4 separate regions of the Homo sapiens genome follow, and all the other regions are linked to region 3. Evidence: promoter capture Hi-C in 16 types of primary human blood cells and fetal thymus (Javierre and others, 2016). All regions are on one chromosome and are shown on one strand. The core of a region is centred on a gene start or on the middle of the fragment in contact, and the rest is flanking DNA. Distances in the headings are between cores, read along the strand shown.

Evidence for each region. The method cuts DNA at HindIII sites, captures the fragments that hold promoters and counts their contacts. A CHiCAGO score of 5 or more calls a contact.
Region 1: a fragment that was not itself captured here is called in contact with the fragment with the promoter of CNP in region 3 in 2 of 17 cell types (monocytes and M2 macrophages); the score reaches 5.7 in monocytes.
Region 2: a fragment that was not itself captured here is called in contact with the fragment with the promoter of CNP in region 3 in 2 of 17 cell types (M1 macrophages and M0 macrophages); the score reaches 5.9 in M1 macrophages.
Region 4: a contact is called between a fragment that was not itself captured here and the fragment with the promoter of CNP in region 3, in 7 of 17 cell types (endothelial precursors, M0 macrophages, monocytes and 4 more). The highest score is 8.1, in endothelial precursors.

Annotation. Positions count from the first base shown.
Region 1 is chr17:42,255,866-42,261,904 of GRCh38, reverse strand. The region is part of intron 1 of STAT5B (signal transducer and activator of transcription 5B); the gene reads left to right. Among named protein-coding and RNA genes, the nearest start is that of STAT5B, 18 kb to the left of the region's middle. The HindIII fragment of the contact is 4,091 bases long and covers 2,443-6,039 here.
Region 2 is chr17:42,224,017-42,230,347 of GRCh38, reverse strand. It overlaps STAT5B (signal transducer and activator of transcription 5B), which reads left to right. Exons shown (of 19, transcript NM_012448.4): 3 at 2,663-2,819; 4 at 5,480-5,569. Among named protein-coding and RNA genes, the nearest start is that of GHDC, 33 kb to the right of the region's middle. The HindIII fragment of the contact is 5,832 bases long and covers 739-6,331 here.
Region 3 is chr17:41,962,232-41,968,331 of GRCh38, reverse strand. It overlaps CNP (2'',3''-cyclic nucleotide 3'' phosphodiesterase), which reads right to left and starts at 1,537. Exons shown (of 4, transcript NM_033133.5): 1 at 1,445-1,537; 2 at 1-264. The coding sequence starts at 1,447. It overlaps ODAD4 (outer dynein arm docking complex subunit 4), which reads right to left. Exons shown (of 12, transcript NM_031421.5): 12 at 1,829-3,339. The coding sequence ends at 2,849. RefSeq lists enhancers at 1-505, 506-1,063, 2,165-2,264 and silencers at 1,035-1,224, 1,355-1,794, 5,097-5,246. The HindIII fragment of the contact is 2,895 bases long and covers 444-3,338 here.
Region 4 is chr17:42,271,116-42,276,554 of GRCh38, reverse strand. It overlaps STAT5B (signal transducer and activator of transcription 5B), which reads left to right and starts at 164. Exons shown (of 19, transcript NM_012448.4): 1 at 164-307. RefSeq lists a silencer at 1-531. The HindIII fragment of the contact is 902 bases long and covers 800-1,701 here.

The DNA.
Region 1 (6,039 bases), core at 3,239-5,738, 290 kb before region 3:
AACGTAATGAGATCCCATCTTTATTTTTATATTAGAAAAAAATCTGGCTGGGCATGGTGGCCCATGCCTTTAATCCCAGCACTTTGGAAGGCTGAGGTGGGCTCATCACTTGAGCCCAGGGGTTCAAAAGTATCCTGGGCAACATGGTGAAACCTCATCTCTATAAAAATACAAAAATTAGCTAGACGTGGTGGTGTGTGCCTGTAGTCCCAGCTACTTGGGAGCCTGAGGTGGGAGGATGGCTTGAGCCCAGGAGGCAGAGGTTACAGTGAGCTGAGATTGCACCACTGCACTCCAGCCTGGGTGACAGAGTGAGACCCTGTCTCAAAAATAAATAAATAAAAATAAAAAATAAAAAATCTATCTTAACTTGGATTGTGCATTGTAATTTATTATAGTGAAATTGCTATAACAGAATTTTATTTTAAGCCAGTTTGGGGAATACCAAAACATTTTTAAAAATCACGTAGTACTTTTTAGTGCTTTTAAAACCTAAATCCATAAAGTAGTTAATTAAAATGCATGAAGTAAATAAGTGTTTTTCTGTATTAAAGATAAAACTATAAACATATATTGTTCAATATGCCTACATAAATAAATCATTCTCTTCTTTTTGGTTATTTTTTGCTTATCACCTCTTACCTCCTCTACTTCCTAAAAACATGATAATCTCGTTTAATTCAAAATTATGTTTTCTGGCCATACATGGTGGATTATGCCTGTAATCCTAACACTTTGGGAGGCTGAGGTGGGCGGACCACTTGAGTCAGGAGGTCGAGACCAGCCTGGCCCGCTTGGTGAGACCCTGTCTCTACTAAAAATACAAAAATTAGCCGGGCGTGGTGGCACATGTCTGTAGTCTCAGGAGGCTGAGGCAGGAGAATCATTTGAACACAGGTGGCAGATGTTGCAGTGAGCTGAGATTGCACCACTGCACTTCAGCCTCGGCGACAAAATGAGACTCTGTCTCAAGAAAAAAAAAAAAAAGGTAAGACATATAAACTAGGAAACTAAGCAATAATTGTGTACAGTATGTGGAATATTTATGTTCTAGACCAGCACTGTTCAATACAAATATAATGTGAGCTCCAATTGTAATTTTCTTAGTCTGTATCACAATAAAAAGTAAAAATAAAATTAATTTTAACAATATACTTTAATATATAAAAATTATCATTTCAACATTTGATCAATATAAAAATTATTGATTAATGAGGTATTTTGGGCCAGTTTGGGGAGCCAAAGCAGGAGGATCACTTGAGTCCAGGAGTTCGAGACCAGCCTGGGCAACATAGTGAGACCCAGTCTCTAACAACAACAACAACAAAATTAGCTAGGCATGGTGATGTGCACCTATAGTCCCAGCTACTTGGGAGGCCAAGGTGGGAGGATCACTTGAGCCGAGGAGGTTAAGGCTGCAGTGAGTCGTGTTCGTGCTACTGCATTCCAGCCTGGGCAACAGAGTGAGACCCTGTCTCAAAAAAAAACAAACGAACCCAAAAGCCCACAAAAACACTGAGATATTTTACATTCCTTTTTTTGTACGAATGCTTCAAAATCTGGTGTGTATCTTACAGTTATAAAATCTCTCAATTTAGCCACCAAATTTTCACCAGAAATGCATGAACTGTGTTCAGATTTCATAAAACTTTCAGTTGATAAAGTAGATTCACATACTGAAGGTGTTCCAAACGTACTGAAAGGTTTTCCAAGTATTAAATTGAACACCAGTTTCCAGGTTTACATTTAAGTTAATTCAAATGAGATAAAATTTGCAATTCAGTTCCCCAGTCGCACTAGCTACATTTCAAGTGCTTAGGTAGCACATGCTGCTAGAGGCTACCATAATAAACAGTGTGGCTATAGGCCTTCTAACGAAGGGAAATGAAATATAGGGCTGTCTCCTGCTTTATAACATCTGGCTTACAATCAACAAATACAAATAGGGTCGCTTGGTGCAGCAAACCACCATGGCACATGTTTACCTGTGTAACAAATCTGCACATCCTGCACATGTATCCTGGAACTTAAAATAAAACAAAACAAATAGGGTCTCTTGCCCTGTGGGAACTGAAGCCACTGCTCTGTAGGAAATAAAAGTGTCTTTCTTTTTTGTTTTTTTTTTGAGACAGAATCTCGCTATTTTGCCGAGTGAAGTGGCATGATCTTGGCTCACTGAAGCCTCCCCCCGACAGGTTCAAGCAATTCTCCTGCCTCAGCCTCCCAAGTAGCTGGGATTACAGGCACCTGCCACCACGCCCGGCTAATTTTTGTATTTTTAGTAGATACGGGGTTTCGCTGTGTTGGCCAGGCTGGTCTCAAACTCCTGACCTCAGGTGATCCACCCACCTTGGCCTTCCAAACTGTTAGGATTACAGGCGTGAGCCACCGCGCCCAGCACAAAAGTGTCTCTTACCTAAAGAAAGTGATGCCCTTAAAGCTTCCTACCATTCCCTCACCCCCAAGACACACCCAGACACCCACAGATGCACCCTCTTGTTTGAAAACTGCTGCATCCTTGCATGGCTGAAGCATTACCCATGTCCTTGAAGCTCCTGCTTTCAGAGGACCTCTCATTTCTTGGGAGTAGAAAAGCCCTCTCTGGCCAGGTGCAGTGGCTCACGCCTGTAATCCCAACACTTTGGGAGGCCAAGGTGGGAGGATCGCTTGAGCCCAAGAGTTTCAAGTCAGCCTGGGCAACATAGTGAGATCCCATCTCTGAAAACAAAATTCTGAATAAAAATAAACAGCCCACCCTGTTTCAGGTATACCTCAACTGTCAAATCACTTTTAGGCAGGGTGTTTTGTTATTTTTGTTTTGTTTCAGAGTGTTGTTTAACTTTATTTTTGAAACTGAATTTGTCTAGAAAAGAATCATATTCACCTTTTGGTCTTAGCTACTCTTCATTTTTATAAAATACATCAAGTTGATGCTTAAAATTGGGGATCTAGTTACAGATGAAATTTTTCCTTTCAAAAGAGAGTTCCCCCCAGTTTTGCTGTAGTCTTAGGAGATACTTAAGGGAGGGGAATCATTTTTAGTTCCCCCTAGGTGAGGTGGTAGCCTCCCTAAACTGCCAAGTTCACACCATGACTGGTAACACCACTGTGTGAGGAATACTGAACAAACGGAGCTTCAGAAGGGAGACTTGCAGAGATTCTGGAATCTAGGTAATGCCACTTCCTACTTAGTTTATCTTAATGGTTTTGTTTGTTTGTTTGTTTTGAGACGGAGTCTCGCTCTGTTTCCCAGGCTGGAGTGCAATGGCGTGATCTCAGATCACTGCAACCTCCGTCTCCCAGGTTCAAGTGATTCTCGTGCCTCAGCCTCCCAGATAGCTGGGATTACAGGCAAGTTCCACCATGCCCAGCTAATTTTTGTATTTTTAGTAGAGACAGGGTTTCACCATGTTCGTCAGGCTGGTCTCAAACTCCTGACCTCAGGTGATCCTTCCGCTTCAGCCTCCCAAAGTGCTGGGATTACAGGCATAAGCTACCGTGCCCAGCCTTAATGGTCTTTTTAAAGGATACCTGATTTCAGAAGGAACCTTTGAAGAAATGGCTAGAACTTCTGTGTTTCTTTGGATATTGCCTGACATCTAAGCCAAATTAGTTGACCTTTTAATGTTAAATAAAATATTCAATAACTTTTACTAATGGGTGGGCTTTAGGAACCCCTTTATTTTACTATGTTGCCAAAAGTAGGTTCATTATAACATTGGAAACATCCTGATGTAATTTATTGAATGTAAAATTATTCCTCAATACATTTGAGGATGATTTCCATAAAGGGAAACAAATTCCTTTCTTCCAAATATACTGTGACAGCCTATTTTGAAATATTTAAAATATGTCCCTAAAGATGAAAATTAAAGAGCGGACACAAAGTTGTTATGCTCTAAGGAGTCATTCTTTTGATTTAAAATTCATTATAATTCCCTGGTTGTCTAGTGGTTAGGATTCAGCACTCTCATAAAATTCATTATATTGATTCTATAAAAGTATATTGTGTTGGATTAAGAAACACATGGACATTTTTAAGTGTTTCAAAATATTTTTGTTATACCTAGGTTTTCACTGTGGTGGTATTTGTTGTTTTAGTAGAATTTGACCTATATTTTATTCTATGGGAAAAAGAAGAAAGTAAACATTGGCTAGCTATCTACCACCCTGTACTGCTATTTGTGTGTGGTCCCATTGTGAATTTTTAACTCCATGCTCTATATTTTTAGTGCTTTGTGAAGATTGAATCTGCAAATCACCTTTGAAAGACAAAGGATTTGATTTGATTGTGGCAATCATGAAAGTTATCCTGTAAATAAAACTGTATGTCCTGGACCAAAGCTGGAATAATGCCACACTGAAATGATCTTAACTGTGGAATCCTTGATTGGACCCGATTTGTTTTGCACATACAATAGCTCCATAAAGATGATAGGCTTTCAGCAGGGATGAACAGATGTTCTGGTTTTATCAGAAATTGCTTTTGCATCACCAAGACTTCACAAAAGCCAGTAATCCCCCTGTTTGATGTTGTGGAGGTGCTTTTAAAACTTCTTCCCAGATACTGGTTTGAACACACAGACTTTGTCATTGACCTGTAAGATTCAATTGTCAGGTGGTATCTGTTTTCTCCCAACAGAAATAAAGAGAAGAAGAATAAAAACAAAAACTAGAAAGTGTAGCAGGGGCACAATTATTTATTTAAACTTTAAAGTATTTAATATTACATACCAGAATCTAAGTTACATAAAGCATGTCTGTTTTGTTCACTGCCACATTCTTAGTACCTAGAACAGAGCCCAACATGTAATAGTTACTCAATAAGTATCTGTTAAATAAGTATAGTAGTCCTGCCTTATCCCAAGGGATGCCTGAAACCTCAGGTAATACTGAACCCTACATATATATATTGTTTTTTCCTATGCATATATAATTATGATAAAGTTCAATTTATAAATTAGGCACAGTAAGAGATTAAGAACAATGATAATAAAATAGAACAAGTATGTAGTCTTTTTTTTTTTTTTTTTTTTTTTTTTTGAGACAGAGTCTCGCTCTGTCACCCAGGCTGGAGTGCAGTGGCGCAATCTCCGTTCACTGCACGCTCTGCTTCCTGGGTTCATGCCATTCTCCTGCCTCAGCCTCCCCAGTAGCTGGGACTACAGGCATCTGCCACCACACCCGGCTAATTTTTTGTATTTTGTTTAGTAGAGACGGGGTTTCACCATGTTAGCCAGGATGGTCTCGATCTCCTAACCTCGTGACCTGCTCGCCTCAGCCTCCCAAAATGCTGGGATTACAGGCGTGAGCCACTGTGCCTGGCCGAATGTAGTCTATCTTAAAATACTGTATCTTACTATGCTGTACTGTGGGTAACAGAAACCATAGAAAACAAAATCTCAGATAAGGAAAGACTATTGTATTCCCCTTTAATCTCAATACAGCAGGTGTATCCAGAGAACTTCAACCCTCAGAAGGACTGAAAGTGTGCCTTTTACTGTGGAAGAAAGAAAAGAGAGGGGGCTGGGTGCAGTGGCTCATGCCTATAATCCCAGTACTATGGGAGGCTGAGCCAGGAGGGTCACTTGAGCCCATGAGTTAGAGACCAGCCTGGGCCACAGAGTGAGACGCTGTCTCAAAAAAAGTTGGGGGGATGGGGGAGAAGAGAGAGGAGACAGCAAATATCTCTTTGTTTCCTTTGGATTTCAGCATTAAAGATAGAAAAAATGTGAGTTTATTAGGCAAAAACTGGTTTTTTAACCCCATTTTAAAGATTGTGGAGTTACGTATATATATCATAAAATTTACCATTTTTAACCTTTTATTTTGAGATGGAGTTTCTCTGTGTCACCCAGGCTGGAGGTTAGCTCATTGCAACCTTCACCTCCTGGATTCAAGCAATTCTCCTGCCTCAGCCTCCTGAGTAGCTGGGATTACAGGTGCACGCCACCATGCCTGGCTAATTTTGGTATTTTTAGTAGAGGTGGGGTTTCACCATGTTAACCAGGGTGGTCTGGAACTCCTGACCTTAGGTGA
Region 2 (6,331 bases), core at 2,405-4,904, 260 kb before region 3:
GGTCCTCTTTGACAGTCCCTGAGAGAACCAGCTTTGATGCTGCTATTTGCAAAGGGCCATATACCTGTCTGTAATGTTGCCTTAGAATAATCGCAATGCGTGTTAGTAGCAAATTTCTGTTCAGAAACTAAAGATCACCAAAGAAAGGCAATTTTCTAGGCAATTAAAAAAAAACTCAACTTCATGTAATTAAGTGAGGGAAAAAAATTAGCTAAATATGAGAATGTCAGCTGTACCTCGTTTAGTGCTTTCCACTCCCTTTTCATTTTCTCTCCTGTTTTCTGATGTGGAGGATTTAGAAAAACATGAGTAGGAAGTTGCTGTTAATTTCAGATTTCACTTAGCAGAGTTCTCATTTGGTGTTCTCACTGAATGAATTAAAAGACTTGTGTTGATATTAAGGAAAACTTGAAATTTTTTAGCTTTGGTTTTCTTCAGAATATAAAGATTTTAATGAAGAATTTTCAATTCTTTTTTTTTTTTGAGATGGAGTCTCGCTCTGTCACCAGGCTGCAGTGGCGTGATCTCGGCTCACTGCAATCTCCGCCTCCCGGGTTCAAGCAATTCTCGTGCCTCAGCTTCCCGAGTAGCTGGGACTGCAGGTGCCCGCCACCACACCGAGCTAATTTTTGTATTTTTAATAGAGACGGGGTTTCATCATGTTGGCCAGGCTGGTCTCTAACTCCTGACCTTGTGATCTGCCCATTTCGGCCTCCCAAAGTGCTGGGATTAAAAGCTTGAGCCACCGGGCCCAGCCAAATCTTTAGTTCTTTATGTTTAAGCCATCTAAGCAAGTCTTTTTTTTTTTTAACAGAGAATTAAGGTTTCAAGTAAAGAACCAATACCTGACTTCTGTGAGTTTTGCTCAGAGACTGGATCCTTTTAAGAGTGGGCTCCTGGCCGGGCACGGTGGCTCACGCCTGTAATCCCAGCACTTTGGGAGGCTGAGGTGGGTGGATCACTTGAGATCAGGAGTTTGAGACCAGCCTGGCCAACATGGTAAAACCCCGTCTCTATTAAAAATACAAAAATTAGCCAGGCGTGGTGGTGCACGCCTGTAATTCCAGCTACTTGGGAGGCTGAGGCAGGAGAATCACTTGAACCCGGGAGGCAGAGGTTGCAGTGAGCTAAGATCGTGCTACTGCATCCCAGCCTGGGTGACAGAGTGAGACTTCGTCTCAAAGAAAAAGAGTGGGTTTCCAGACCAAGGGCATTGTTGCCAGTTGAAACAGAGGTGCAGGGCTGCCCTCATTCCTTCCAGCCTTTCATTTAATACGTATTCTATTTAATACATAGGGCACACATATTTAGAATCTGACTTGCCTTAACTGCCTTCTCAAGGCGCAGATTGGGGTGTACTATTTGATGGACTATGGTATCACTGCTTTTTTTGTTTTGTTTTGTTATGTTTTCGTAGAGAGAATCTTGCTTTGTCACCCAGGCTGGAGTGCAGTGGCGCAATCTTGGCTCACTGCAACCTCCACCTCCTGGGTTCAAGCAGTTCTCCTGCCTCAGCCTCCCAAGTAGCTGGGACTACAGGCACATGCCGCCACGCCCGGATAATTTCTTTTGTGTTTTAGTAGAGATGGGGTTTCACCGTGTTGCCCAGGCTGATCTCCAACTCCTGAGCTCAGGTAATCCGCCTGCCTCGGCCTCCCAAAATGCTAGGATCACAGGCGTGAGCCACCACGCCCGGCCGGTCTCACTGTTTTGATACACTTGTTGGTGCCTCTTTTTTGAAATTAGTTGCTATCTTCAGGGATTTAGGGATGGCAGAGCCTTTTAGCTACCACTATCTTGTTTGGCTCCAGACCCAGTCAGCAGTTATTGAATGTTATTTCAGTCCGACAGCTGTTTGGTTTCTTCAGTGAGTAAGTAATTTGGTACTTCCCAGTGTCAATTGTTGCCTAAGTAGTAGAAAGGAAGGAAGGAACGGAAGGAAAGAAGGAAAGAAGGAAAGAAAGGAGGGAGGGAGACCATCCAACCCCCGTCACCAGTTCAGTAGCTTGAAATCAATGCAAAGTCTGTAGCGTGGTTTTCCTTGTTTACTGGAAAAGTTGGCATTGCCTTCAGGTCCTGGGTCTGCAACTAGTGACATGAATGTCTGACTCGTATAAATTCTTGTAGGCACCCTCTGCCTGAATGTCTCATTTCCAGGGCTTCTTAGAAATAGCAATAACTTGTTTCACCTGTCTCTACCTAAGAAACCCACAGATACCAAACTCCTTGAGGCTGGAAAGGACATGTAGAAGAGTCTTGGCCTTGTGCCTCCTTTACACCCATGAGGGGTAACTATAAATAGGAAATTATCCAAGTCCTTATTTCCTTCAGAGTACACAGAACCCTTTCCTTTTCCTTGCATTTCTCGGAGCAAATAGCATAAGCACCAAGCACATCATTGAGAGAAAGGAAGAAGGGCAGCACATTGTTAAAAATTTTTTTTTTTAAAAGAAGGAAATCTACTGTATAATCCAACTATTTAGTAAATTACAAATAGATTAACATAGGCATTGAGTCCATTTCTGTTGGGCTGTTTCTTAAAATTTGCAGTGAGGATTAAAAACATCACTTTAGTTGAAGAAAAAGTAGGATGTGTTGAGGCTGTATTTATACAGGCTCACGTGCATGTATGTATACAGATTATGTAATTTTTTTCCCCTAGGGACTCAGTAGATCTTGATAATCCACAGGAGAACATTAAGGCCACCCAGCTCCTGGAGGGCCTGGTGCAGGAGCTGCAGAAGAAGGCAGAGCACCAGGTGGGGGAAGATGGGTTTTTACTGAAGATCAAGCTGGGGCACTATGCCACACAGCTCCAGGTGGGTGTGGGCTCTGGGGTCACACTTAATTACCTTCCCTTGGGGGTCTTCTTCCTGTAGAGACTTTCTTTCTCTCCTTCAGTCCAGCATTGTTGAGTTACACGTGCATAAGGTTCTTGTTGTGTGGTTTTGGTCTTTTTTTTTTTTTTTACTTTTTATTTGAGAATAATTTCATACTTCCAGAAAGTTACAAGAATCATACAAAGATTCCCCACATATGCCCATATTCACCTGTTGTTGACTTTTATGTTGTCATATACTCCTCGCTGTCTCTCGACACACACGTTTTTCAGTCACTGGAGAGTAAGTTGCATACCTTGTGTCCCTGCACCAGTAAGTACCTCTGTGCATTTTCTATTTATTTATTTATTTATTTATTTATTTATTTATTTTTGAGACGGAGTCTTGCTCTGTCGCCCAGGCTGGAGTGCAGTGGAGCAATCTCAGCTCACTGCAACCTCTGCCTCCCGGGTTCAAGCGATTCTTCTGCCTCAGCCTCTCAAGTAGCTGGGATTACAGGCTCCTGCCACCATGCCTGGCAGTTTTTTTTTTTTTTTGGTATTTTTAGTGGAGACGGGGTTTTGCCATGTTGGCCACAGTGGTCTTGAACTCCTGACCTCAGGTGATCCGCCCACCTCAGCCTCCCAAAGTGTTGAAATTATAGGCATGAGCCACTATGCCCGGTCCCTCTGTGCATTGTCTTTTTTTTTTTTTTTTTTTGAGATGGAGTTTCACTCTTGTTGCCCAGGCTGGAGTGCAGTGGCGCGGTCTCGGCTCACCGCAACCTCCACCTCCCGGGTTCAAGTGATTCTCCTGCCTCAGCCTCCCAAGTAGCTGGGACTACAGGTGCATGCCACCACACCCGCCTAATTTTTGTATTTTTAGTAGAGATGGGGTTTCTCCATGTTGGTCAGGCTGGTTTCGAACTCCCGACCTCAGGTGATTCACCCTCCTCGGCCTCCCAAAGTGCTGGGATTACAGGCATGAGCCACCGCACCCAGCCCCTCTGTGCATTTTCTAAGAATGAACCTTGTCTTGCATGGTTATAATACACTGATCAACTTCACTAAATTTAGCATTGATATAATACTTTTAGGTACTCATCTGGATTTCCATTTTGTCAACTAATTCAAACATGTCCTTTAGGGTATTTTTCCCCGCTGCAGTCCAGAATCCAGCCCAAGATCACATATTGCATCTAGTCATCATGTCTCTTTAATCTCCTTTAATCTGGAACCATTTTGCAACCTTACTTTGTCTTTCATTACATTGGCATTTTAAAATAATTAATGTAGGCTGGGTGCAGTGGCTCACACCAGTAATCCCAGCACTTTGGGAGGCTGAGGCGGGTGAATCATCTGAGGTCAGGAGTTCGAGACCAGCCTGGCCAACATGGTGAAACCCCATCTCTACTAAAAATACAGAAATTAACTGGGTGTGGCAGTGGACAACTGTAATCCCAGCTACTTGGGAGGCTGAGGCAGGAGAATCTCTTAAACCTGGGAGGCAGAGGTTGCAGTGAGCCGAGACCGTGCCATTGCACTCCAGCCTGGGTGACAAGAGTGAAATTCCATCTCAAAAAATAATAATAATAATTCATGTACCCCCTGCTTTTTAAAGATAAAATGTTCCTCATTTGGGGTTTGTCTGATGTTTCCTCATGATTACGTTAACATTGCACATCTCCGAGCAGACTTCTAAATATAGTTGGCTGTCCATGTCCATGGGTTCTGCATCCTGATTCCACCAACCGCAGCTCAGAAATATTCAGGAAAAGAAAAAAAGTAAAAACAAATAGAAATAAAGATATGACAGAACAGCTATTTACATAGCATTTCTTTTGTATTAGATAGTATAAGCAATCTATAGGTGGTTTAAAGTGTATGGGAGGATTGTATGCATTCTATGCAAAACGATGCCATTTTATATAAGGAACTTGAGCATCTGCAGATTTTGGTATCCAAGTGGGTCCTGGAACCAGCCCCCACAGATGCCAAGGGACAATTGTAGGTGACTTGTCCTTCTCGGGTATCACATCCAGAGGGGGGCAGTGTCCCTCGTCCCCTCATTGGTGGTAGTAGTTTTGATTGCCCATTTGAGAGTGGCATCCAGTTTCTCCTCTTGCGAGGCTTTTAAAACTTATTTATTCCGTTTTTAAGAATGTTCCCCGGATACTTTAGGCAAATTAAGATGCAAAAAGTAAAACAGCACTTTGGGAGGCTAAGGCAGGTGGATCACCTGAGGTCAGGAGTTCGAGACCAGCCTGGCCAACATGGTGGAACCCCATCTCTACTAAAAAGACAAAAATTAGCCAGGCGTGGTGGCGGGCCCCTGTAATCCCAGCTACTCGGGGGGCTAAGGCAGGAGAATTACTTGAACCCAGGAGGCAGAGGTTGCAGTGGCCCGAGGTTGTGCCACTGCACTCCAGCCTGGGCAACAGAGTGAGACTCAGTCTCAAAAAAAGAAAAAAGAAGTAAAACAATCTTACCTTTTCACTGCAATTGGATTTCCATGATGTGCCTTCTTGTTCCTGTTGGTATTGGAGGAACAGTGCCTCCTGTGATTCAGGAGGTCCCTCAGGAGGCTCCCCATCCTGAGGCATGGTTAGGGCCCATAGTGTGGAGTGGCACAAAGTGATGTCTGCTGTTGGATTCTTTCAGAACACGTATGACCGCTGCCCCATGGAGCTGGTCCGCTGCATCCGCCATATATTGTACAATGAACAGAGGTTGGTCCGAGAAGCCAACAATGTGAGTGTCCCATAGGGATGGGGAGGGCAGTCGGGAAGTCTTTTCTTACCCACCTCCCTCTGGACCCACCTTTGTCAAGGTGACTCAGGGTGCACTATTGGTGTCTCTTTAAAGAGAGCTTCATCCTAAGGGGCACAAAAGAAATAGGAGACTTGACTGAGTGCAGCCCAGCACTTTGGGAGGCTGAGGCAGGCAGATTGCCTGAGCCCAGGAGTTCGAGAGCACCCTGGGCAACATGATGAAACCCCGTCTCTACCAAAAATACAAAAAAATTAGCTGGGCATGGTGGCATATGCCTGTAGTCCTGGCTGTTCGAAAACCTGAAGTGGGAAGATCCCTTGAGCCCAGGAGGTAGAGGCTGCAGTGAGCCATGATCGCACCCCTGCACTCATGGGTGATGGAGTGAGACCCTGTCTCAAAAAAAAAAAAATGAAATAGAAGATGTGGTCTCTGATCTTAACTGATTTATAACCTTGATGAGATTGCAACCACAAGACAATGTGAACAAGTGCAAAGTAATTCAACCTCAGCTGAATAATTTTTTAGTAAAGGCATGCTCATATTCAGGTGAGAATACTTAGGAAAGACTTTTCCCTAGCCCCTGAATCAGGTGTGGAAGGAGTGGTCTGATCAGGTCACTTACAGGGCTGGGTCCACAGAGACCTTGTTTATGCCTCCCCCATCACTTCACCCTGGGGTCTCCAGGATGCCTGCAAGAGGTTTGGCCTCTTCCATGGTGGAAGCAAATGATTCCATCACGAG
Region 3 (6,100 bases), core at 288-2,787:
GGTGATCTTGTAAGCGTCAGCCGACACCATCTTGGTGCCATCACGGTACTTGTCCACGATGACCCGTGCCAGCGTGGACTTGCCGCTTCCTGGCAGGCCGCGCAAGATGAAGAGCGTCTTGCACTCTAGCAGCGTGGCCACTGTGTCCTCATCCTGAAGGAAGGGAAACTGCAGCTCAGGCTTGTCCTTGGCCCCTGAGGATGACATCTTGCGGAAGAAGATCTTGGGCAGGAATGTGTGGCTTTTTCGGGAGAAGCCTCTGTTCTGTGTAAGGAGGGGAAGAGATGTCAGCCCAGGTCATTCGCGGGCTCCCCGCCGGCCTTACCCCTAGTCCCTAGACTGGTTGTGGGTGCCTTCCCAAGCGGGGCAGTGCTGGACCTTCTTTCCCTTTCGGTCCGGGAGCACCTTTCCGCTTCTGGTCGTGGAGGAGGAAGAGGGAAGCTTGTCTGAAGCTCTCCTAAGCGTGCGCTTTCCCCATTCCTGCCACTTCGGAAAGGTAAACGTGCTGGAGGCATGCGGGGCGCGCCAGGAGCCTGCGGTTCTGGGACTGGCCTCACTCTTATATGCTTGGCACCTACTAAGGACGTCCTCTTTGGAGGTGGGGGTCTCTGTGTCTGGGCCAAGCCACAGCTGCCACGGCTGAGTGCACAGAGAAGGGGGGGAGTGGAGAAGGGTTACCCCAAGACTGCCTCCCTTCCCCCAACAATGGCCGCAACAGATAATACTCTCTTGTCTGGCATGCGGGTACAATGGTCCCACAGAAGGGCTGGTGGGGGGCAGGGCAGGAGAGCACTGGACAAAGGCCCTCTTTCACCAAGCCTGCCACCTCCTCCTCTACCCTCTCCCGGCCCCCACAAAGTCGTGGTCTTTGTGCCTGTCCAGAACAGGGCAGCACAGGGCACCTGCAATTAGGATCCAGCTCTACCCGCCGCTGTGCTGTGTGTCAGAAGCGCCTCTCGGAGCCACTTGTTTTCCTATCTTCTAGAAGCCACAAGGGACGGCAGCTTTTACCGTAAAGGGTCCCCTCCTCTGAACTGGCTCCACCTCCCGCCCGCACCCGGGCGCGGGGCAGCGGTTCCGCGTGATGAGACTGGGCCCGGGGAGGGGGCGCCGAAGCGGCTGCCCCAGCGCGGGCCTGCGTGGGGTCGGGAGCAGCTCCCGGGCTCCCGGCCCAGGCCCACCCAGGCTCCCAGAGGCGCAGCAGCTTCTGCGGTCCCGAGTTCCCTCCTGAGAAACACCACCGTTTCCCTTTACAGCGGCCTCTCCGGCACCCCAAAACCCCTCCGCTTCTCCCAGACCTCAGGGCCGCCCTGAGTACCAAGAAAACTGGAAGTCGAACCCGGAGCCCCGGGTCCTCGTTTGCAAGACGCTTCCTCCCGAGGGGCCCCGACACTCGTTTCCCGCCCTGGTGCTACCCCGTGCCCGGCCCCGCCCGGCCTCTCACCATGATGAGGAGGGGCGCCACCGTCGCCGCCTCTGCCGGCACCAGCGCTCCGGGGCCGCCCGCCTGCGCGGAGGGACACGGGAGTCCAGCGGTGGCACGACCCGAGCCCGGCCGCTTTACATAGCCCGGGGGGCGGAGCGGGCACCCGGGCGGGCTGGGGGCGGGCCGTCTCCTCTGCGCGCAGGCGCTGCGAACCAAAACCCGAAACTCTCGCCGCGCGCGGGAACCTCGGCCCGGTCCCGCCCCCTGCGCGCGCCTGCTCCCCACGCGCACCCACCCACTGCGCCTGCGAGCTGAGCGGCCACTAGCTTTTTCTGCGTGTTGAGGGGTAACTCAGTCACCCTCCCCGGTCCCGTGGATTAGCAGGAAGTGAGTGAGGCAGGGTCGTGCAAAGTCGGATCCTGTCTTTAATTTTTGATATTTTATTCATCATGGACTTTTGCATTAATTAAAAACTTTTTTTTTTACCACATTGGATTAAAATATTATCATGCAATTTGCTGGCATTCCGGTAAACTCTGCATCTGAAATGCCTCACTGGCCTCATTCGTCCAGGCCCTGTGCCAGCCGAAAGTCAGTCTCAGCCCCGACCTTTCCTTCTAGGAGCTGTGGAGACAGACCAGGATGGCAATGGCCAAAGGGACAGATGAGTAACGGAGTGAAATCCTAACATCCTCTGAGGCCAGATCCTCAGCTGCCACCTCCTCTGTGAAACCACTGAGAGCTCCGTTGGATTTTTGAGTTTCCTGTCCAAGTGCTGTGCTAAGCACTCAGTCCTCGCAGCAACCCCTGAGGCAGGTATCCCATTGTTCAGAGGAGAAGCCAGCTTGGAGAGCCTGATTTACCTGATTATGCCACCCAGAGGTGTCAGAGGCGGAGTCTGTCTGCCCTCCCGACTCCCAGGCCACTCCCCTATCTTTGGCCTCACTCCCAGCATTCGCTTGGTTCTGGCTTGCGGCATTCTCCTACCTGTGACAGCTGGGGCCGCCCCACCACTGTTCCATCCATAAAGCCTCCCCGCTGTCCTGCGCACTGGAGGGACTCAGTCAGTCACCGGTGTGTGGGAAGCACCTCTCCTCCCAGGCCTTCCCCTCTCCTCCCTGTGACTTCTTGTTCCCTGTAGCGCCCGTATCTTCACCCTCCTGAAACCCTTTCTTCTTGGCACCTTTCTCATTTCTTCCACGATGCTCTTCCAAGAATGGGCAGGGGTGAAGAGGCAAAGTGACAGACTCAGGGTTTGCAAGAGTGAAAGACACCTATTTAATGGCAAAATAGTGATGGAAAGCAGCAGAAGTAAAACCCTCATTTTTCCTATAACAGACAAATCGCTTGAAAATCCAGTTTAATAAAATCCCATGATCCCTCTGAACACCAGCTTCCTGATCCTCATCTCTACCGATGGCTTCATTCATATTCCTTTTCCATCTCATTTCCTGTTTTTTTCGTTTCTCCTATTTCTCCAAATTGTGTTTTTCCCAGTTCTTCTGGCTCTCTTCTGCCCACTTCTGAAAGTTTCTTTAGTTCTTCTGGTTCCTGTCTGCTGAATTCTCCTGAGAGTCTTTGCTCTAATTCTCCCGAAGGCCTCCTATAAATTTCTCTTGACTCTCTTCTGCCAGCTTCTAGTAGCTTCCTGCCTGTTTCTCCTGATCTTGTGCCTAATTCTCCTGACAGGCCCTTGGCAACTGCTCCCAAATCGCTTCTGGCTTTTCCTGCTTCCACACTCTGCTTTCCGCTTGCTGGGCTCTGCAGAGCTTCCCCAAAAGCCTCATCGTCCTCATCTGTCTCTTTCTCATCCTCACTATGGTCCCACTGCTTCACCACCTTCTCGGGCTCATCTCTCACTCTCCTCATGTCCTTCTCTCTTGTTATTATTCTATCTTCATACAGTGAAGCTTCTGAAAAATAAGAGAAAAGCGGGAAGAAAGATAAAAGTTTGTTCATGTCAGGCCGGGTGCGGTGGCTCACGCCTGTAATCTCAGCACTTTGGGAGGCTGAGGCAGGCAGATCCCTTGAGGCCAGGAGTTCCAGACCAGCCTGGGCGACACAGTGAGACCCTGTCTGTACTAAAAATACAAAAATTAGCCAGGCGTGGTGGTTGGCGCCTGTAGTCCCAGCTACCCGGAGGCTGAGGCAGAAGAATCGCTTGAGCCCAGGAGGTTGGGGCTGTGATGAGCCAAAATCCAGCCACTGCACTGCAGCCTGGGTGACAGAGCAAGACCCGTCTCCAAAAAAGAAAGAAGAAAAAAAAGAAAGAAACTGTTCATCTCTGTGGAGGCCTGTGCTTTTGAGAGGCCGATGAGAGAAAGGCCCTGAGAATGACTGTTTTTGCCAGCTCTTTAAATTGGTGTTGACAGCACACCTTTCCAAAAGCAGAGAAAGGGAACCATCATTGACTGAGCCCAGCTCCGTCCTGTGCATCACGTGAGGGCTGTATAGCTTATCCCATCCAGACATCATGAAAATGCGCACTGCCGTTGATTTGAGTTTGCAGTCAAGGGACCTGAGATCGATAGAAAAGAAATCACACGGCCGGGCGGCATGGCTCACGCCTGTAATCCCAGCACTTTGGGAGGCCGAGGCAGGTGGATCACCTGAGGTCAGGAGTTTGAGACCAGCCTGGCCAACAAGGTGAAACCCCGTCTCTACTAAAAATACAAAAATAAGCTGGGCATGGTGGCAGGCGCCTGTAATCCCAGCTACTTGGGAGGCTGAGGCAGGAGAATCGCTTGAACCCAGGAGGCGGAGGTTGCAGTGAGCCAAGATTGTGCCATTGTACTCCAGCCTGGGCAACAAGAGCAAAACTCCATCTCAAAAAAAAAAAAAATTAACCGGGAGTGGTGGCACAAGACTGTAGTCCCAGCTACTCAGGAGGCTGAGGCAGGAGAATCACTTGAACCTAGGAGGCGGAGGTTGTAGTGAGCCGAGATCGCGCCACTGCACTCCAGACTGGGTAACAGAGGGGAGACTCCATTTCAAAAAAAAAAAAAGGCACAGTGGCTCATGCCTGTAATCCCAGCACTTTGGGAGGCTGAGATGGAGGTTGCAGTGAGCTGAGATCGCGCCACTGCACTCCAGACTGGGTAACAGAGGGGAGACTCCATTTCAAAAAAAAAAAGGCACAGTGGCTCATGCCTGTAATCCCAGCACTTTGGGAGGCTGAGATGGAGGTTGCAGTGAGCTGAGATTGCACCACTGCATTCCAGCCTGGATGACAGAACAAGACTCCGTTTCAAAAAAAAAAAAAAAGAAAGAAAAGAAATCACACAATGGTCACACTGCAAGTGTGCAAGTGAGACAGAATTTGAACCCAGGACAGTCTGACCCCAGAACACCTCTTTTCCCTGCAAGAAATAGCATAGGTGCTGGAAAATGACAGAAGGATTTTCTCCAGCATCTTCATTCTGACACTTTCTCTTTGTCCCTGGGAAGCACATTCATTATTTGTTGGGAGGTTTCCTATGAAAATATAGAAAAAACATAAGGAAAAAGATAGGTTTCCTATAAAGATATACGCTGCTAACAAAAAGTTCAGCTGAAGAGTTATTTTACAAGCAAAGGGATCCTTGCTCCTAAATTTTTTTTTTTATCAGTTATGGAGAAAAGTTACATCCCCTTCTGCGTCTCCCTTACATTCTCCTCCTGGAAACCACTAGTTACTGAGGTATCTGCAGAGGGTCTCAGGTCTCAGGGGGTCACAGCCCTTTGGTGGTGAAAACAGATGCAATGCTGCCACCTGCTGTTCTGAGAGGGACGTGCCCGGCAGTTCTCCAGGCACAAGGACGCAGGCCAGGGTAGGGAGACTGGGGTGTTGGCTGCTTCCCCGCAGAGTCTCTCTCCACAGCTGTTGCTCCTGTGGCTTCTCAGAGCAGCTCAAAGGGCATGTGGGGGCGGAGACAGAGCCCCTCTGAGGGGGTCCAGCCACCACAGAGCAGGTGCTGGATAATAAAGGGCTGTCATCTGGCTGCTCAGGTGCCCAGAAACCTCCCGCTGCCCTGCCTGGACCAGAAAGGATTTCAGCCTTGCAGCCTGGAGGGCTGCAGCCAAGAATCTGCATTGGGCTCTGTCCTCCCGGACCTCCAGCCCCAGCTCTGTTCACTGCAGTCTGGCTGGAGTGAGAGCTCCACAGACTGGGGCAGGAAAAGGCTGTCTGTGTCACTAGAAACAGTGTGGCACGGGCCGACGCGTGGGTTCTAGAGCAGACTGCCCAAGACTGAAAACCACTGTAGCCTCTAACCCCTCTGCCTCCATGTCCTCCATAAAGTCAAGCTAATAACACTTCCTTCATAGTGTTCCTGAACAGATACAGATAGGATGAGTCCGTGCACACAGTCTTTGAAAGAATGCCTGGCCTGCGGGAAGCATGAATGGGGGTCGGCTACTGCGCTTAACACCCCTGTTCCTCTAGGCCCCTCTCCAGTGGGGTAGGGCTGCTCAGCCATCTTCTGCTTCTCCTTCCCTCACTCCCTCCCTGCAGGAAAGGAGAGCCCAAAGGCAGGGGGCCAAAGGCCTGTTTACTCCCTGGAGACCTTGTGAGAAAGAATGTGGTAAGGCACAGCTGTCAGGCAGCCTCTGCACCTTATGCCCCTCTGCACCTGCCCATCACACTGCTGGCCCGAGAGCAGCGCCGCAGGTGGGGAGAGTGGGGCCCCGAGTCAC
Region 4 (5,439 bases), core at 1-2,500, 310 kb before region 3:
CAAGGGCGGTCGCGGAGGGGGCGCGAGGGACAGCGGGCTAGCGAGCGCGCGCCGGGCGGAACCAGGAAGCGGGGCGCGCTCCGGGTTGCCAGCGGCGCGCGTCCCTGGGCCTCCGCGCGTGAGCGGCGCGCGCGCCCCCGCGGGCCCCGGCGGGAGGAGAGTCGGCGGCCGGAGCCGTCACCCCGGGCGGGGACCCAGCGCAGGCAACTCCGCGCGGCGGCCCGGCCGAGGGAGGGAGCGAGCGGGCGGGCGGGCAAGCCAGACAGCTGGGCCGGAGCAGCCGCGGGCGCCCGAGGGGCCGAGCGAGGTAGGAGCTGCGGGGCGAGCCCTGGGCCCGGGGCCGGGGGAGCCAGGCCGGGGAGCCAGCCCGGGCGGGGCCCGCGCTCCAGCCGCTCAGCCGCCCGTCAGGGCCGCGCCGCCGCCATCACTCCCGGGCCGCGGTGGTTGCGCGCTGGGCGAGGGGCGCGCGCGGGGAGAGGGGGTCCGGGTTGGCTGCCGGGGAGGCTGAGGGCAATGCGGGGTGCGCGAGGGGGACTTGCGAACGCCGCGGCGCCGCGGGGGGCGTGCGCTTTAAAGGCTGCGTGCGCGTGTGCTGAGTGGGTGTGTGGGGACCCCGCGCCGACCCCATAGGAGCTCAGGGGGCTGCTGTCAGCCGCCTCACACCTTCACGTTGCAATTCCGAATATCCCCAGCCGTCTTCCTTGCTTTAACTTCTTTCTTTCAAAAGAGGTTCCCGGGACTCCGGGGATGGGATGAGCCTGCGGGGGTGCCTGGTGCGGTGGGGGGTATTAGCAAAGCTTCAAGAAACAGGGCCTTATAAGGAATCAAGACAACAAATACGAACGTTTCGATAAGACTCTGGGGGGCGGGATCCCACATCAGGACCCGCCAGGCCTGGGCTCGTGCGTGTGGCCGTGGGATGCAGTGTGCTTTTTCTTTCTAGTCAGGGATAAAGGGTTAAAAGTGCTCCTGGTGTCGGGGGGTAGATATGGAGAGTCGGAAGGGGAGTTGTATCACAAAAGCTGGTCTGAGGCTAAAGGAATCTGGCAAGATGGTCGGGGTGAACAAAGAGGAAAGAACTCACACGGAGCAAGAGGCGGTTGCAAACACTTGTAGCCAGCAGTGATGGAAAAGCCAAAGAAGAAAACCAAGTGTCAGCTTTTAGAAAGACGGGATTAATGAAAAGCACAAGAATTTTAAAGACTAAAAGAGATACCGATTCTCTCTTTGCCAAAGAGCCAGAGTCAGTTCTTTTCTTCTTGGTCCCTGTGATCCCGCCATACCTCGTATCAAATAAATAGTGCCAAAAGTGGGTCAAAGAATGTTAGAGCTGGAAAGGAACCCAGCGATGATGCCATTCTTTTATTGTACAAATGAGGAAACTGAGGCCCAGATAGGTGGAGTAAGTGGCCTGCTCAGGTGACACGGCTGTTTGTTGAGTATCCAGGGATTGAAACTTCAAGGACTCTGAGATTCGTGCTCTTCCCAAAGCATCGTGCAGTATACAGATCTTTGCCTAGATACAATTCCATACATTTTCTCTGCAGTGTCCTCAGGGAATGCCCTTTGAAAGGGCCAGCGTGACACTGAATATCATACTTGGGCTTATGTCATTTTTTTCAGTCTTCAAGTGGTGTTTATGGTCTGCTTGGATCTTAGGTTTCCAAAGCTGTTGGATAGCCGCCTGGGCCATAATAAGCTTTCAGCTGTTGGGTCTACATTATTTCAAATAATTTTGTTATCTTTCAATTAAGGTAATAGAACTGTGCCTCTCTCCCCAACATTCTATTGTTGTCCATTTGCTTATGTTATATTGCGTTATGTTCATTGCCTGTGAGTTCCTAGGTGAGGATGTATTTTATTGAGTGTGCCTTTCATGTTTTAAAATTTCATTTTGTAACACTGTAAATATTGGAGTGGTTCTGATCACTTCAAATGGGGAGAATCTTATTGATTGATTTTATTTTAAGGCTTTGGGTTGTTTTGTTTATTCATTTGGGTACCAGTTTCCATCTCATGGAAGATCACAGTTGTTAGAATGGACATGGCTAAATAAGAGAAGGGGCTGCTGATTTTAAGAAAAACTTCCTATGTGACAATTTGTGGTATCTGTTACGTTTAATTCAAACAAGTCCACACCTTGGGTCAGGTAAGCGCGTTATCTAGGAGATGACTTGTTTGCTACTGTAGCCTCTGGAAGATGAAATTTCAAGCTCCAGATTGAGACACAGGGAAGGAATGGAGAGGTTTTTTTTTTTTTTTTTTTTTTTTTTGTAAAGCAAACCATCAGAAAAAAAAAGTTGATTTCTATCACCAGTAGTTTGGTTATTGCATAACTTGAAGCTAAACTCTGCACAAAATAATCTTTGCTATATACCCAACTAGGTAAACTATCCCACCTTCTCATCAGTTCTCACCTTTTCGGTGCTTGTATTTTTTGCCCACGGGATATTAATATGGATTGTGTTCAGAAATTTAAGGTGTGTACTTCATAGTATGTATGATTGTAGGAGAAAAATGTGCTATCATCGTTTGGAGTGTTACAACATAAATATTTTGGTCAACACTTCCTATCCTGCTCTGACTTTTCATCTCATCTCCATTTTCTTCCTCTCTTGATTGTTTTTATGTCATTTACATATGTAAAAGCCACATCAAGACTAAAGTTGCCATTTATTACTTTTTGATACTTAAGTCGAGTTTTTTCAAATCATAGTATTGTTAGTATTCAAATTGTCTGTAATTTTTGTTAGGCTTATATATTATGAATCCATTTGTTGTGGTTTATTTGGCTTGTTGTTATGTAGGTAGGTGACACAGGTAGTCTTATTGTAAAAGGAAGACGTTATAGATAGGTAAATAACATGCTCAAGATTAGATGCAGGTTACAGGTGGAATCGAAGGAAGCCTAACTATTTTCGTGCCCTACAAAAATGTCTGTATCTCATAAAGTTATTCACAGATTTCTGGACATTCTATCTGTGACACATTTTTTCCCTTTCTGTTAAGAGTGCAGATTACTGCATTATTCCTACAAAAGGAAGCAAAATAACCCTAGTTTGTATGATTTTTCTGATAATTTGAAACTTATTCGTTTAAAAAGCTATCTGGCAATTCCAGGTTACTGGACTCTTGAGAAGAATATCCTTTTATTTTGATACTATAAAATATCAAAGTATCAAAATACTTTAACTGTGCAACTTAATAAAAATAATGCTTCAAAGTTAGCTCTGCACTATCGCTGTCCTCAAATGTGTGGTATTTAAAGGAAGAAAATGTTTTTAATTCTGAGCTTTGTGAATAGAACTCTTCTAAAATCAGAAGTTTTTTTTTTTCTCCTGCAGTGTTGGAAACACAACAGTTTTATGCTTATTTCTGGGAATAAGAAAGTCAAACTTAACAATCTAGTTTCCATTGATCAGACAGTTTTTGTACTTAAATTTAAGTTCTAAGCATCAGAGTGATAAATACTTTTTAAAATTGTATTCACTGTTAATTATAGTGGCCTTATTTGAAGTAAAATCTTGACATTGGGTGTTTTATTAATGATGATCCTCTGCTACTGAAAAGCCTATGTCAGTTTGGAGAAGATTTTGCACATCTAAATCTATGCTGTTTTTACTAATCAAAAGAGAAGAGCAATTTACAGGTGTTAGATTTTTAGTTGGTTGAATGAGACCCTCACTTTTGATGGTTTCAGAGTTGAAGTGACGTTTTATTACTTTTGTTAGTTTGGGTCACACCCATCACTTCCTTGGAAGGTATCTTTGAGGTTTGGTTTCCTTTTTTTTTAAATGGTAATATTGGGGTGGGGGTGCTTCCTGTTTGTATTTTCAAAATTAGGTCCACATGTTAACCTTCTTGTAGTGTCACATTTTTATTTTAAACTTATACAGACAAACATCAGATGCCATGTGGTTTGTCTCTGACCCTTTGCGCTACTTCATGACAGCTTTACTGAGTGAAGCCTGAATACCCAATCGGGAAGGCAAGATGTTCTTGTCTTTTCCCAACTCTCTTCAAAGTTTAACAGCCTTGGAAGGAGTCTTAGAACAGCAACAAAAGCACAATTTACAGAAAAATGGAGGTGCTGCTATCTGTTTCCTCGCAGGTACTTGGAAAATGTATAGCACTAAGATAGAGTTGAAACATGTTATGTAGAGCCTTGAATGTCGGTGCTTCAAAGAGGAGTTGCTCTGGGTTTACATGATACAGAACCCCATGGTTTATATTAAGTAGTAATGATAGCCGTTTTTCTGGACTCGCTTAAAAGCCATACACAGTGTCATGGAAAAGAGTTAAGAACAAGGTGAAATTCAGGGTATGGTATTAGAGCTCAGGAGGAATCACCTTCAGCCTTAAAACTCTTCCTTTACTCTCCTGGATCACTTAAGTGATAGGTCACTTTTAATATAAATGTTGCAGGATGAGTTAAGTGGAGCCTTGAGAAATATGTGTAGATTGTTTCAGTGATTAAAGCAAGTGTTCTTTTCCTGGCCTTTAACTCGCTTTATGCTAAGAAGTGTAATAACTAAATAGACTCCTAATTGAATTGACATTCAGATGTGTTTGCAGTTTAGGGGGAGTTTACCTCTTCTAAATTTTCATTTGGATCCCATTACTAAAAGCAGTATTGCATTAGCATGGTGCACAATTATGTACAATTCAATTTGCAAATGAAGTTAATACTTGGAGTATCTTGACTTCCTATTCCCCTGCTGCCCCAATATTCAAGAAAGGAGAAGTTATAATTTGTCACATACAAGATGGTTTCTTCTTTAGGTTTATTCTTAATAACTATGTCCATTTTCACATGGATGACACCACTGAGATGATGAATACCTGTATTGATTGATTGATGAAGAACATTTATCTTTTTCTACCTACTTTTGGAAGCTAGCTTGCAAAATCTACTGCAACATTCACTCTTCATGTATCCTTCTATTACCTTTGGTACCCTGAATAACCTTTTAAAAATTTTTGTACTTTTCTAATATGAAGAGAAGTAGCTTCATATTCTATGCTAGTTTTCTGAGGTGCTTGTGCTGACTCATTTTTTAAATTATACTAAGATATAGAGCATGGTTTGAGAGCAGTAATGAGATTCTCAGAAAATATGAAAACTTTCCTTTCTGACTAGTTAGAGAAAGGTTGGGGAAGACAAGGGGAAATACATCAATGAGCCAATCAATTATTGTTATTTGTTGGGATTAATTTGGTGACTAATATTTTTAATGCCCATCAGGCTACTAAATGTGAATTTGGCTTTACCCTGTAATGATAACAGGACAAACCCAACGGGTTTCTAACATTGCTTGTTTTCCCCTGGTAGGGGATTTCTTTGCATATGGGAAATCAGGCCGAAGTTGCCAGTAACAGCCACATCCATGATTTGTATTAAAAATAACTATTCATCATTCTGGGCTAGAGCTCTGCTTA